Regions from separate parts of the Homo sapiens genome. Here region 1 is linked to region 2. Evidence: promoter capture Hi-C in 16 types of primary human blood cells and fetal thymus (Javierre and others, 2016). All regions are on one chromosome and are shown on one strand. Each heading gives the region's core, a stretch centred on a gene start or on the middle of the fragment in contact. The rest is flanking DNA. Distances are from core to core; before and after follow the strand shown. Region 1 has its middle 12 kb from the start of GLG1. Region 2 holds the start of CLEC18B (C-type lectin domain family 18 member B).

The links. Contacts are between HindIII fragments. The CHiCAGO score rates a contact against its expected background, and 5 or more counts as called.
Region 1: a fragment that was not itself captured here is called in contact with the fragment with the promoter of CLEC18B in region 2 in 3 of 17 cell types (endothelial precursors, M1 macrophages and erythroblasts); the score reaches 10.3 in endothelial precursors.

What each region holds. Positions count from the first base shown.
Region 1 is chr16:74,616,909-74,621,398 of GRCh38, reverse strand. No RefSeq gene overlaps it. Among named protein-coding and RNA genes, the nearest start is that of GLG1, 12 kb to the right of the region's middle. RefSeq lists an enhancer at 139-638. The HindIII fragment of the contact is 683 bases long and covers 1,509-2,191 here.
Region 2 is chr16:74,419,402-74,423,729 of GRCh38, reverse strand. It overlaps CLEC18B (C-type lectin domain family 18 member B), which reads left to right and starts at 2,252. Exons shown (of 12, transcript NM_001385193.1): 1 at 2,252-2,583; 2 at 3,138-3,229. The coding sequence starts at 2,460. It overlaps LOC107984827 (a long non-coding RNA gene), which reads right to left and starts at 1,610. Exons shown (of 3, transcript XR_001752253.3): 1 at 1,288-1,610. The HindIII fragment of the contact is 28,054 bases long and covers 1-4,328 here.

The DNA of each region.
Region 1 (4,490 bases), core at 601-3,100, 200 kb before region 2:
TAATGGCTCCTAGTGCCTTTTGTCTCTTTCACTTCTAGAGGCAGGAACATGTCTGCCTCTTGGGAGAGGGATATAATCCCAACCTGGTAGATTTCTCGGGTTTGTTCGTTTGTTTGTTTTTTGAGACGGAATCTTGCTCTGTAGCCCTAGCTGGAGTGCAGTGGCGCCATCTTGGCTCACTGCAAACTCCGCCTCCTAGGTTCAAGAGATTCTCCTGTCTCAGCCTCCTGAGTAGCTGAGATTACAGGTGTGCGCCATCATGCTCGGCTAATTTTTGTATTTTTAGTAGAGACGGGTTTCAGCATGTTGGTCAGGCTGGTCTCAAACTTCTGACCTTGTGATCTGCCTGCTTCAGCCTCCCAAAGTGCTGGGATTACAGGCGTGAGCTACCGCACCCGGCCTTTTTTTTTTTTTTTTTTTTTAACTGAATCTCACTCTGTTGTCCCAGGCTGGAGTGCACTGGTTCAATCTCAGCTCACTGCAACCTCTGCCTCCCGGGTTCAAGCGATTCCCCTGCCTCATTCCTCTCCAGTACCTGGGAGTTACAGGCGCCTGCAACCATGCCTGGCTTATTTGTCTATTTTTAGTAGAGACGGGGTTTTACCATGTTGGCCAGGCTGGTCTCCAACTCCTGACCTCAAGTGATTTGTCCATCTTGACAGCCTCCCAAAGTGCTGGGATTACAGGCATGAGCCACCTCACCCAGCCATAGATTTTCTCTTTTTCACACAAATGAAGTGGTTGAGGCTTTAGCTTGCGGTTCTGTTTTGCTGTTGCCAGTGGAAAGCGATGTGTTTGCCTCTTAAGAACCCTGTGCCCTGGCCGTGTGGCTCACGCCTGTAATCCCAGCACTTTGGGAGGCCAAGGTGGGCAGATCACCTGAGGTCAGAAGTTCAAGGTCAGTCTGGCCAACAAGGTGAAACCTCATCTCTACTAAATGATATAAAAATTAGCTGGTCGTAGTGGCGGACACCTGTTACTCAGGGGGCTGAGGCAGGGGAATTGCTTGAACCCGCGAGGCAGAGGTTGCAGTTAGCTGAGATTGCACCACTGTACTCCAGCCTGGGTGACAGAGTGAGACTCCGTCTCAAAAAAAAAAAAAAAAAATGTCCTGGTCTTATGTCTATTTACTCTCAGATCTAGGGATCTACATTTCCCAGACTTGTCTGCTGGCTTCCTGCTAGTTTCTTTGAATCCAGGAGACTTTAAAGTGGGAGGAAGAGAGAGGAGGAGAGGACTTTTGTTCCCTTTATTTCTTTTAGTCATTGGTGGCACTTCTGACCGTGGCAGCAGCAATGGGCAAGTATGGGTTTCAGGGTTCCTGCTCAGTACAGTTCTGGCCACCTGCCTCAGTTTCTTTGTTCTGTTTGAGTTCAAGAATCTTCGTTGCCATAAATCATGGTGCTCTGGAATTAGGCTGGAAAGGCTGAAAATGTTTTCCAGTTTCCAGCTGAACAGCAAATGGAGTATACTGGATTCCAGGAGAACTGAATCCATAGGTATAAGCTTACTAACTTCATGGAGCCTGGTGCTCTAAGGGAAAATGACAGAGGTCCTAGGATAGAAGTGAACCCCAAATTACAAAACCCAACACCATTGTTTTTGTTTTTCACAGTACCCTTTTTTTGTTTTCCGTGTCAGTGATTGACTATAAGTGAAATTCTGAAAAAAAATTTTTTTAAGAAACGGGGTCTCACTGTCACCCAGGCTAGAGTGCAGTGGCACTATCCTATCTCGACTGCATCCTCAAACTTCTGGGCTCAGGTAATCCTGTCTCCTCAACCTCCTAAGTAACTGGGACTGTAGTTGTGGACCACTGTGCCCAGCCAATTTTTTTTTTTTTTTGCTTTTTTTTTCTTGGTAGAGACGGGGGTCTTGCTTTGTTGCCCAACTGGATTCAAACTTCTAGTTCAAGCAGTCCTCCCGCCTCAGCCTCCCAAAGCATTGGGATTGCAGGCATGAGCCACCATGTCTGGCCAAAATTCTAAAAATAGACATTTGTTTGTCCTTGTTCTTAGTCAACTTATGTTTGTTGGTAACACTCTCTGTTTTATCTCTTTATGGTTTACTAATATATTAAGTAACATCTTAGTAAATATATATTACTAATAAGTAATTCTTAATGTTATGGAATACATATTATTATTCTATCTTACGGGGGAAGAAACAGGTTAAAAATACTAATAAAGCTTGGGTGCAGTGGCTCATGCCTGTAATCCCAGCACTTTGGGAGGCCAAAGAGGATGGATCACCTGAGGTCAGGAGTTCGAGACCAGCATGGCTAACATGGTGAAACCCTGTCTCTACTAAAAATACAAAAATGATCCAGGCATGGTGGCGTAAACCTGTAATCCCAGCTTCTTTTTTTTTTTTTTTAGACGGAGTCTTGCTCTGTCTCCCAGGCTCGAGTGCAGTGGCACGATCTCAGCTCACTGCAAGCTCTGCCTCCCGGCTTCACGCCATTCTCCTGCCTCAGCCTCTTGAGTAACTGGGACTACAGGCGCCTGCCACCACACTCGGCTAATTTTTTTGTATTTTTAGTAGAGATGGGGTTTCACCGTGTTAGCCAGGATGGTCTCGATCTCCTGACCTCGTGATCTGCCCGCCTTGGCCTCCCAAGGTGCTGGGATTACAGGCGTGAGCCACCACACCCAGCCCCAGCTTCTTCTTGAACCTGGGAGGTGGAGGTTGCAGTGAGCCAAGATCGCGCCACTGCACTCCAGCCTGCGCAACGGGAGCAAGACTTCACCTCAAAAAAAAAAAAAAGAAAAAATCCTAATAAAGGAAAATGACAGATGGTATTTAATTAAATTTTATATGTCCTCGTCTTCCCAGTCTATACTTTGTGTTACCAACAGCAAAGCAGGAGTTGGAGAGCCTGGGTGAAAGCTCATTTTCACTCTTCATAGCTCTGTCTCCAGAACACCCTAGGCTAAGCCCCCACAAATTATTTCTTCTGCATTGAAAATTACAACAAAGCAGACAGTCATACTCATGATGTGGCACTACAGTCTTCAAGTAGTTTTCTGGGTGCTGAGGCTGGGAACCCCACTGTCCAATAGAAGAAAAAACGGGTTCATAGAAGAGGCTATGACACATGGGCTAGAACTGCCCAGCAGTGGTCATCGGAAAGGTCAGCTGAAGAGAGGAGGAAGGTGGAGGAGCTGTTGGGCTTGCTCTAGAAAGCAGGGTGCAGGGCCAGCTGAATAAGGAGTCTACTGTCGAGATGTGAGGAGTGCCATGAACCCACGCTGGTCCCTGAGGAGTAATAACAGGTTTATCCAGTTACAGACACCCAGCAGAAAGGCTTCCTTAGAGGCTGAACATAGGTACCAACTTAAATATCTGGATTTGGATAAAGGGAGAGTTGAAGGCTGAGGGGGAAACAAAGTTCAGGACATCACTGAACAGATGCTTGGGTTAAAAAAAAAAAAAAAATGGCCGGGCACGATGGCTCACGTCTGTAATCCCAGCACTTTGGGAGGTCAAGGCAGGTGGATCACGAGGTCAGGAGTTCAAAACCAGCGCGGCCAACATGGTGAAACCTCGTCTCTACTAAAAATACAAAAAATTAGCCAGGCGTGGTGGCAGGCACCTGTAATCCCAGCTACTTGGGAGGCTGAGGCAGGAGAATTGCTTGAACCTGGGAGGCAGAGGTTGCAGTGACCCTAGACTGTACCACTGCCCTCCAGCCTGGGCAACAGAGCAAGACTGTCTCAAAAAAAGAAAACAAAAACAAAAAACTGGCACTTTTGTTACCTAAGCCAGCTCTGTGTGAGCTGCCAACAGTTGGATAAGCTGCTGGTTAATGAAAGTTGTAAGTGGGAAGTTGGCAGGCCACTTATTTCCTGGAATAAAGAAGGGGATGCCTGCCCTGGATAAATGGTTATGCTCTGCCTTCAAACTCCAATGCCTGTAGACCCTCCCATTTAAGAGAAATGTCACCAGAGTTAAAAAGAGTGCCTCCAGGAGGGTCCAGGGGAATTCCCAGGCTTGAGCTATGGAGGGGGTGTTGAGTGATGATGTGGCTTCCTCCTTTCTCATAAGCCTGGTACAAAAAATTGCTGGTTAGATTGTGCAGGAACATATGGGAAACAATGAGGGCCTAACATGAGAAAGGGTGACAGGGTAGGGGGGAAGATGGGAAATTGCCACGGAATCTAAGCTCAGTGAAGTTCTGACACCTCACTTGTACCCCAGTGGAAGCTCCAGAGTTAGCGATGACCCCAGTTCCTCTCTTGAAGATGATGTCCTGACTTGAGATAGAGAGATGGTATTTCACTAGGCAAACAGTATGCTACCCCCTCAGCTCACAGGAGTCACTTGCCCTTGAGTCAAGGAAGTAAACGAAATATCAAATGCTAACATTTGTTTCTCTGATTGAGACCCTCTCCAAAAGACATGATATTCCTGCAAACTGGCAAATTGCCATAAAGGAAGTAATATTCAAACTACAGTCCGGTCTCTACTGTCTACAGATCAGAATGCTG
Region 2 (4,328 bases), core at 1,003-3,502:
CTCCTGGGACTCTTTTTTTTTTTTTTTGAGGGGTCGGGGGTGGGACAGAGTCTCGCTCTGTTGCCCAGGATGGAGTGCAATGGTGCCATCTTGCTTCACTGCAACCTCCGCCTCCCAGATTCAAGCAATTCTCCTGCCTCAGCCTACCGAGTAGCTGGGACTACAGGCACCCACCACCCTGCCCAGCTAATTTTTGTATTTTTAGTAGAGACAGGATTTCACCATGTTGGCCAGGCTGGTCTCAAGCTCCTGACCTCAAGTGATCCGCCTGCCTTGGCCTCCCAGAGTTCTGGGATTACAGGCATGAGCCATCACACCCGGCCTGGGACTCTTCTTGCAGTGAGCCAGGGCCATGGGACCCTTCAAAAGTTGCTCCACCCTAATCCCCAAAATATCTTTTTCTCCCGCCTGTCCCAAGTGCCTGGCATCATACTATATGGGTCAACTGGCCGTGTTTGCCATGGAAGCCCAATTGTAGGAAGTGGGTCTTTTATCACCCGGCATAGCAGAGCTGTGGAAACTGCACTGGGAAAGATCAGGATGTGAATTAAAGCGTTGGGAATGGGAAGGCAGAGACCTTGGATTAGCTGGGATGCTCCATGCACTCGCTGAGTGACCTTGGACAAGCCCCTTAGACACACTAAGCCCGTTTCCTCATCTACACGACGGGCATCCCATCTGCTACTGCACCAGGTTCTTGTGGCAATAACTTGAACTCACACATGCAAACAGGCTTTGTGAGCTCCATAAACACAGGTGGCTCGGCCAGGTGTGGTGGCTCATGCCTGCAACCCCAGCACTTTGGGAGGCCAAGGTGGGAAGATCCCTTGAGCCCAGGAGTTGGAGACCAGCCTGGGCAAGACGATGAAATCCTGTCTCTACCAAAAAAAATAATAATAATTAGCCAGGCATGGTGGCACACACCTGGTCCCAGCTACTTGGGAGGCTGAGGTGGAAGGATCACTTGGGCCCAAGAGGTCAAGGCTGCAGTGAGCTGAGATTATAACACTCCAACCTGAGTGGCAGAATGAAACTGTCTAAAAAATAAAAATAAAAATACATCAAAAAACAGGTAGCTATTAAGCATTGCTAGGACCCACACGCAGTGACCCTGAGGGTGCTGGGTTTCTGTTTGAGGGAGAAGAAACTCCTGAGCCCCTAGGTATTGTGGGGGACATGCAGTTCCAGACCGCCTTCATGGCCTGTATGCCTGGCCTCATCCCCATCCCTGGCACCCATGACGATAGCCACATTCCACTGGTGTTTCCCCAGGAAAGCCAACCCTACCTGCATCTCAGCAGAGCTTCCACGGAGTTGGAACCCCGCTCCGAGAGGGTGTGGGCTCAGGGGCCAGGGGTCACACAAACTCCAGAAGGAGGACGTAGTTGGTTTGCAAGGCTGTCCTTTGCCCTGGTTGAATAACCTTCGGTCTGCCCCGAGAGGAACGTGGGCATTAGGCTGCAGCCCGCAGGAAGCCATGTATTTTCTGAGAAACTTGGCCCATGGTGCAGATCTGCTCCAGCTCACTCTGGTGGGATCACGCCAGCCACGGCCGGGCCACGGCACATCATGGCAACGTGCTGCCCACCTGCTACGCCGCCTGTTTTTCTAGAGGCGGACGTGATCCCAGCAGGACTGGAGTCAGCCCAGGGCATCACGTGCTCTGGTCCCCGCCTGCTTTGACTCCTCCTGCCTCACTCCCCCCCTGGCCTGTAGTCACGTGGGTGAGGGTGGTGGGCACCGGGGCTGGGCCCAGCCCCCGACCCTGCCCAGACAGACTTTCCTAAGGCACCCTTTTCCTCGTGCAGGTGCGGCCTCAGCCCACCCCCCTTTGAGCCCACAGATTGCACCCCTCTGGTGTGCGGTTACCTCTTGCCTATGTTTAATTCATGGCTGGGGGGTTGGGACGAGCTTCCCAAGAAAGGAAAGAACTCCCCTGGGGTCTTGCCCAGTTCCTGCTCACCAGAAGGACCATAGCCGAGGTCCTCCTCCCAGGGCCCGGGGCTGGGGAGCGGAAGCCATCAGTGGGCTCGGAGGACACTGTCCCAGCCAGGACACGGCCATCGGTCACTAATCTGCAGCACCGGAATGTCCCCAGGCCAATCAGCGGGGTCTCTGGGGGCTCCCCAAGGGTGCTAATAATCCCACAATGATTAGCAGGGGCCGCGGGGCAGTGCACGCCACTCTGCCTGCTGTCGGGGGCGGGCTGGCCAGGCCGAGGCCGGAGCAGGCAGGCATCCCCGGGAGTTGTCTCTTTTCATGCCAGCGCCAACAGGAGGCTGTCTGGACACACTGATTACTCACTCACCAGCCTCCTTCTTTTGTTCACCAGCCCCCCTCTTTTGTCCACCAGCCCAGCCTGACTCCTGGAGATTGTGAATAGCTCCATCCAGCCTGAGAAACAAGCCGGGTGGCTGAGCCAGGCTGTGCACGGAGCGCCTGACGGGCCCAACAGACCCATGCTGCATCCAGAGACCTCCCCTGGCCGGGGGCATCTCCTGGCTGTGCTCCTGGCCCTCCTTGGCACCACCTGGGCAGAGGTGTGGCCACCCCAGCTGCAGGAGCAGGCTCCGATGGCCGGAGGTAAGGGACACCTGGTGAGGAGGTAGGTGGAGGCACCATTATGAGCTCTGAGGAGTGGGTGCTAGGAGACTTCTGGAAGCCCGGTCCCAGGCCTGAGCCCCAGGCCGTGCGGGTGGTTTAATGAGGAAGCCCTGGGACAGCCCGGGGGCGGTGAGGGGTGGATGCTGGACTGGGGAGGAAGGAGGAGGAAGGAGGAGGAAGGAGGACCAGGGCTGGGGTCAAGGAGGAACGCCGAGGAGCGCTGTGGCTGGGGCCTGGAGAAATCCGTGGCCCGGAGGAGCCCCAGACAGGGGCCTGCGGGAGCCAGGGCTGGCCCCTACACCCAGCCCGCACCGCTGTTCCCTCCCGCCACCCCAACCCCAGCACTCAGCCCACGCCTGCTGTACCTGGTCTCTCTCTCAGCCTCGCTCCATTGCTATGCCCCACGTCCCCTGCACCCACCACACTCCTCTCCCATCTTGTTTTCCAAGGGCAGGGACACATGCTTATTCTGCCGTGTGTTGGGTTCAGGTCCCCCCATCCTCGGGCTGCCTGACCTTCTCTCCCCACCCCAGCCCTGAACAGGAAGGAGAGTTTCTTGCTCCTCTCCCTGCACAACCGCCTGCGCAGCTGGGTCCAGCCCCCTGCGGCTGACATGCGGAGGCTGGTGAGTACCCGACCCAGCTGGGCTCTGCCAGGGGGGTGGCCGGAGGCGCGGACCCCAGAGGGCGGCTCAGGAGGCCACGCCTGTCCAGGTGCCCTTCCACTTGACCAGGGTGGGCAGGCACAGCCAGCCACCTTGCCCCTGAGGGACGGAGGCCCTGGTTGCTGGGGGTCTCTGCAGTTTCTTAACCCCCCACCCTCAGTTCAGGAGGTCGGGCCCCTTGGCTCCCACTCGCCTGAAGGGCAGGACCTTGGGCCTTCCCTGGCATCTTGTTGCCACAGAGACCAGGAGCCACAGGAGGAGCCGGATCCCCTCCTCCAGGGAAGGGGAGCTTCACGAGGAGCCCTGCAGGATGGGCGGCCGGGCCAGGGAGGGAGAAGGTCGTGCTGGGCTGGGGAGGGGCTTCTGTGCGGCAAGGACCCAGCGCCTCCTCCTGAGCTTATCTGAGCCACTAGGACGGGCCTTGCCCATGTTCTCTGCTCACTCACTCGTCCACATTTTCCACATTTTCAGCAGGGGCCAGGGGTCGGGGGTATAGAGTTCCCCACCAGCCCGGCTGGGGCTGCGGGGTTGGGACTGTCATCTGGAGGCTCAGAAACGCTGCCCTCCATTGTCTGGGACCCCAGCAGCCCCAGCCCATGTTAGCAGGCCAGGGAGCCAGGGCAGGGTGGTGGGGGCGGGAGGGTTCCCCATGGCTGCTTCCCATGAACTCCTCCAAGGCAGGTGGCCACAGTGGCGACCTTGAACACTCTAGGGTCAGTTTCCCAGGAGGTGGGGGTGGGGTGGCTAAATGCGGGGGGTCGCTTCTCCCCCATTCCCAGCCCTGAGTGGCTCTGCCTCTCCTCAGGCTCAGACCCTGGGCAACCAGGGGTGCTCCCAGCTGTGACCTCCGTGGTTGGGTACTCCTGCCTGGGACCCCAGGAGGGGCTGCGGTGGTCGTTGGCTGGCAGCTGGCACCCTTTCCAGGGCCCTTTTGTCAAAGTCTTAGAAAACTTCATTTCCATAAAGGTGCAAATGGAGCTCCATGGCTCAGCCTCCCTCGTGGCCCGGCCCCGAGCACCCTCCGGGCCTCTAGGGCTCCAGGGCACCCCTTCTTTGGACA